Linked DNA regions of Homo sapiens: region 1 is linked to region 2. The links are contacts of gene promoters, found by promoter capture Hi-C in blood cells and fetal thymus (Javierre and others, 2016). All regions are on one chromosome and are shown on one strand. The core of a region is centred on a gene start or on the middle of the fragment in contact, and the rest is flanking DNA. Distances in the headings are between cores, read along the strand shown. Region 1 has its middle 7.7 kb from the start of BCORL1. Region 2 holds the start of RAB33A (RAB33A, member RAS oncogene family).

The links. The method cuts DNA at HindIII sites, captures the fragments that hold promoters and counts their contacts. A CHiCAGO score of 5 or more calls a contact.
Region 1: a fragment that was not itself captured here is called in contact with the fragment with the promoter of RAB33A in region 2 in 1 of 17 cell types (naive CD8 T cells); the score reaches 5.7 in naive CD8 T cells.

The regions. Positions count from the first base shown.
Region 1 is chrX:129,973,536-129,976,408 of GRCh38, reverse strand. No RefSeq gene overlaps it. Among named protein-coding and RNA genes, the nearest start is that of BCORL1, 7.7 kb to the left of the region's middle. The HindIII fragment of the contact is 3,364 bases long and covers 1-2,873 here.
Region 2 is chrX:130,170,668-130,173,442 of GRCh38, reverse strand. RAB33A (RAB33A, member RAS oncogene family) reads right to left here and starts at 1,481. Exons shown (of 2, transcript NM_004794.3): 1 at 1,123-1,481. The coding sequence starts at 1,380. RefSeq lists enhancers at 944-1,898, 2,708-2,757 and silencers at 2,018-2,097, 2,268-2,327. The HindIII fragment of the contact is 5,739 bases long and covers 1-2,775 here.

The DNA.
Region 1 (2,873 bases), core at 16-2,515, 200 kb after region 2:
CCAGGTGTGGATGGGGAGACAGCATGTCCGGTTAAACTGAACTCTGTAAACAACCAACAACTTTTTTGGATTTTATAGCCAAAGGAGTGAAAATGAGGAAAGGGGCTGAAATCAACCCAGAGGCCTCACCGGGTCAAGCCCTTCAGCTTGCTGACCACTCTCCTCTTCCCTGAGACTCCTAGGCTCTAAACAAAGTTCTTTCTTAAAAATTATTATTTTTTTTAACATTAGAGGGGGTGGTGGTGGCGTGGTCTTGCAATGTTGCCTAGGCTGGTCTGGAACTCCTGGGCTCAAGTGATCCTCCAGCCTTGGCCTTCCAAAATGCTGGGATTATAGGTGTGTGAGCCACCGCGCCCAGCCAACAAAGTTCTTAATCAAACATGCAGTGCTAGAAGTGGAAGGGATTCTAAGAAATCTGCCCTCCTGAAAAACTGGCTATGGTTGGCCACTGCCAACAAAATCAAGTCCATGAGCCTTCACCTAGCCTTTAGGGCCCTCCCTGATCTAGTTCTAGCCTCCTTTCCTTCCATGTCTCTCACAAGCCCTCTTTTCTGACCTGACTGGCCCCCTCGGCATTCCTTGGATAAGCCATCCATTTTGTCAGCTCTGCTTCCTCAGCTTTTTTTTTTTTTTAAACACTTAAAAAAATTGTACAGATGAGGCTGGGCGTGGTGGCTCACACCTGTAATCCCAGCACATTGGGAGGCCAAGGCGGGTGGATCACCTGAGGTCAGAAGTTCAAGACCAGCCTGGTCAACATGGTGAAACCCCATCTCTACTAAATATACAAATATTAGCCAGGCATGGTGGCAGGTGCCTGTAATCCCAGCTACTCAGGAGGCTGAGGCAGGAGAATCGCTTGAACTCAGGAGGTGGAGGTTGCAGTGAGCCAAGATCACGCCATTGTGCTCCAGCCTGGGCAAAGAGAGCAAAACTTTGTTCAAAAAAAAAAATTGCACAAATGAGTTCTTGAGTTCTCGTTGTGTTGCCCAGGCTGGTCTTGAACTCCTAGCCTCAAGTGATCCTTCCCTCTTCGCCTCCTAAAGTGCTGAGATTACAGGTGTGAGCCACCATAGTGGCCTCCCACAGGTTTTTTTGTTTGTTTGTTTGCTTGCTTTTTTTTGAGATGGAGTTTTGCTCTTGTCGCCCAGCCTGGAATGCAATGGCGTGATCTTGGCTCACTGCAACCTCCTTCTCCTGGGTTCAAGCGATTCTCCTGCCTCAGCCTCCCTAGTAGCTGGGATTACAGGCACGTGCCACCACACCCAGCTAATTTTTGTATTTTTAGTAGAGACAGGGTTTCACCATGTTGGCCAGGTTGGTCTCGAACTCCTGATTTCACATGATCCACCCACCTTGGCTTCTCAAAGTGCTGGGATTATAGGCGTGAGCCATCGCACCTGGCCCCTCCCACCTGCCCCCTCCCACAGCTTTTTATATGTCTTTCTCAGCTTATTGAAATCTCACTCAACCGTTACTCAAGACAGCTCTCTCATCTGGGTGTGGCGGCTCACGCCTGTAATCCCAGCACTTTGGGAGACCAAGGTGGGTGGGTCACTTGAGGTCAGGAGTTCGAGACCAGCCTGGGCAACATGGCAAAACCCCGTCTCTACTTAAAATACCAAACTTAGCCAGGTGTAATGGCACACGCCTGTAATCCCAGCTACTTGGGAGGCTGAGGCAGGAGAATTGCTTGAACCTGGGAGGCAGAGGCTGCAGTGAGCTGAGATCTTGCCACTGCACTCCAGCCTGGGCGACAGAGCAAGACTCTGTCTCAAACAACAAACAACAAACAAACAAACAAAAGACCATTCTCTCATGCCCCTTTCCCTGACACCCACACCCTCCCTATGGAAGTTGGCTGCTCCTCTGGGGCACCCCCACAGTTTTTAGCTTGTCCCTTTAGTTAGCACTTCCACACTCTGCCTGTCTATCTCTCCGACTAGATTTTAAGTTCCTTGGATAAAAGGACTCAGTATTTCTCATCTGTGTATCACAGCCTCCTTCATCTCCCCCCAAGACCTCCCACCTTGGCACATAGTAGGACTTGTTTTACAGTGGAGAAGCTGAGGCCCAGACTTGACTTCCCTTCTTGCCAAAGACTCATTTTAAAGTCTGGGTCTCTTTTAGTCTTTCTCTTCCCACTCAGTGATTAAGCACACAATCTCTGAAGTTAGACAGACATGGTTTGAATACTGGCTCCACCACTTCCTAGCGCTATTGCCTTGCATACTTTTCTCTGAGCCTCAATTCCCTCATTTGTGAAATGGGGGCTAATAAGTACCTCCTGAAAACGTTATAAGGGCCAGGCGCGGTGGCTGAAGCCCGTAATCCCAATGCTTTGTGTGGCCAAGGCGGGGGGAACAGTTGAAGTCAGGAGTTCAAGATCAGCCTGGGCAATATGGTGAAACTCATCTCTGTATATAAAAAAGAAGAAGAAGAAGCAAACGTTATAAAGATCACATGAGTTCTTGTATGTTAAGCACTTAGAACAGTGCCTGGCACCCAGTAGATGCTCCATAGTAGTTTAAAAAAATAAGGAATTTTTAAAGTTCAGAACTTGAGAGCGCCTGCTTCATTTAAGCCTAGGAATAAAACCCACAACCTGAACATAAAGAAAAAGAGATGTATTTTTGGGAAGGAGAATAGAATAAAATTTAGCAAGAACTTTCAGCAAAATTATTACCTCTTGCCCCAAAGAGGCTAAATATTGAAGAACAGCACCCATTTTAGTGGCCCACGTTAGTGGGTACTCAACAAATTCCACTGACTTTGGGGTACTGCTTTTCACTTGCTGTGGTGGTGATTCTGTACAGGCTTAGGGATGTTAGCAGGGACTGAGGTGCCTTGCAGAACCCACTTACATCATTCTT
Region 2 (2,775 bases), core at 232-2,731:
AGGGGCCTTGTGGTCACTTTGGCAGTTTGACCAGCAAGAAGGAGGCTTACTGTCACCCCTGACTCTGTCTAAGGTCCAACCATACGCTCAAGGAAAGGCCAGCTGTGAGCCTAGAGGAGTTGTCTTCAGTGATCCCAGTGCCTTTATAGAGGCCCCCCTCTGCTCCCCATGACACAAGAAGTTGCCCTTGTTATGTCCTCCCTCCCGCCATCCCCTGCACATTGACATATTCCTGTCATATCAGGTTTCTACCTTTTCTGAATTAAAGGTGAGCACAAATGGTCAGACAAGAATATTTGCACTTAGCCTATTACATAAACTCATGGAGGGGGAGGATTGAACATTCCCCTGGCCCTCGGTTAAGTCACTGCATTTTTACAAAGACCTGAAGACAATACCAACAGAATGAATAAGGAGCAGTTCATGTATTAGATGCCCCAGACAAGTAAAGAAGATATCATTCCAGGGGGGCTGTTACAAAAAAACAAGTTTTGTCTATTACGAAGGGCTGGACCCTGCCTCAATTTCTTTAAAAGGGCTCATGGCTTTCTGCCAGAACCACCCCACTCCACCGCCATCTCAACTCAGCCCTAATTTTTTAACTATAAACTGCAATTTAAAATAAAGCAGCTTTTTCATTCTCCATGGATTTCCATCATTTCCTTCCCTCTAACGCCTTGAGGCTTAGCCAAAGTGGGGTTTTGCAGCCTATCGGCACCCAAGCAGTAGAAGAGACATCAGGATGTGTAAAGTGCTTTGGGATCCATCCCAGAGACTAGGACCCACAGATGCCTCCTGCCTCCCTCTGCCCACAGGTGCCGCTGCTCGGGGTAGGGGTCATGGATGGGAATCCAACATGCTTTTCCTGGCAGGACCTGTCAGGCAGGGGCTAAGGGTAAGAATGCAACCCCATTCTCAACCGCCCTAAAAAACTGAGTGAAGTGGGGACGGGGCCCCGCTGAGAGAGGTGAAAAGGGGTGAGGAGGAGCCGAGGGTCCTCGGCTCAGCAAGAGGCGAAACCGCCACGCGCTGGACGCTGGACGACGACAACCGCTAGAGCTATGCCTCGGGCGAGGTCCCCTCCCGGGTCCCACCCTTCCTGGACCTGACCCCCTGGATCACCTTGATCTTCTCGCCCTCGATTTCCACGGTCTTCTCCCTGAAGTCCACGCCGATGGTGGCTTCAGTCTTGTCTGGGAAGGTACCCCCGCAGAAGCGGAAGGTCAGGCAGGTCTTGCCCACGTTGGAGTCCCCAATCACGATTATTTTGAAGATGCGAATCTGCACGTACTGGTCCAGCGACGAGTCGAGCTCCAGGGACGCCAGGCCAGCGGCCGAGGCGGGCTGCAGGCTCCCATGGCCCAGGATGGGCTGCGCCATCTCCCCCGGACCGAACCGGGGCCCCAACCCCCCTTGAGGGCTCCACACAAAGAGAACGTCCACGTTCGTGCGCTCGAGGCGAGCGAGCTCTGTGCGTGTGTGTGTGCGCGCGTGTGTGTGTGTCCGCCCGTGTGTGCGTGCGCCGGCACCGTGTGCGCGCGCGCGCGTGAAGGGGGTGCCTCTCACTCCGGGCCCCCCTCCTCCTCCTCCAGCGCACCCTCCTTGCAGCTCGGAGGCACCAACACAAAAGCCAGGGAGAGGAGGAGAGAGGGAGGAGAGTGGACGAGCCGCGAGCCTTCTGCCTGTGTGCGCCCTCGGACCGGATGCTCTGGCGAAGGACCCTACCGCGCTGCTCCAGCCGCCGCCGCGCCTCGGCCCACACCCTCCCCTGCCTGCATTCCCGGGACGGACCCGAGGGAAGAAGCCTCAGGAGGAAAGAGACGGGGTGGGGACAGCGGCACACGCCACCCCGGGATAGACTTCTTTCTCCTTGCCCCCGTTTATGTTATAGGTTTCGGGCTCCCCACCCCCACTGGCTCGAGCGCACGGGGTCAGCGGGCAGGGAGCACAGCTGGGGAGGACAAAGAGCTGCACCTTAAGACATCACTGGATCACTTCGGCCTCCCTGGAGCAACGCAACTCTGCGGGGATGGGGTGGGGGCGGAGGCACCTCTTTCACCTCGGGAGCAGCGGGCAGCTGAGCCGCGCCTTCCCGGTCCCCGCTACCCCGTCCCCTCTACCCCCACCCTCTACCCGACCCGCGCCTTGGGATAAAGGGATGCTCTGTCTTAATGAGTGAGCAGGTGCACTCGCGGGCCCCAGGCAGCCTGGGAGGCCGCTGCCAAGACACGCAGTGGGTTGTCCGGGGCCTGTACAGCTGAGAGGAGGGAGCCAGCGGGCACGCGTGTGCGTGTGTAGGGGGTGTAACTGTTTCTGTTACAGACTTGCCAGATGTAGGGGGGCGCGTACCAGGCGCCAACATCCCCTTATCACACCACGCGCACCCATCCTCTGAATGTTCAGGAGAGCGGCTCCTATTGGCTGCCGCAGTCGGTTGTGTTTGGCTGGCCAATGGGGAAGGCCCGCCGCGGGAGAGGGCCACACAGAGGCTAGGAGAAGGGGGGGAAGCTAGTGGTGGCAGTTCCAGCAAAAGGGGACTTTGTTTACGGGGCTAGCCATTACTGGCCCAGGTGGAGGATCTTGGGACAATGGCATAAGCTCCACAGTGCCTTCCATTCCCAAGCCCTCCATATAACCATAAGTCCCTCCAGAACGCTGGAGTTTCAGAGGGAGTTGGGAATCCCTAGGAGGGTTCACCTCCCCCTGCAGCTGAATGTAGAACAAAGTGGTTGGGTCTAATTTGCCAGAAGCCTAGATTATGCTTGGAAGATGATA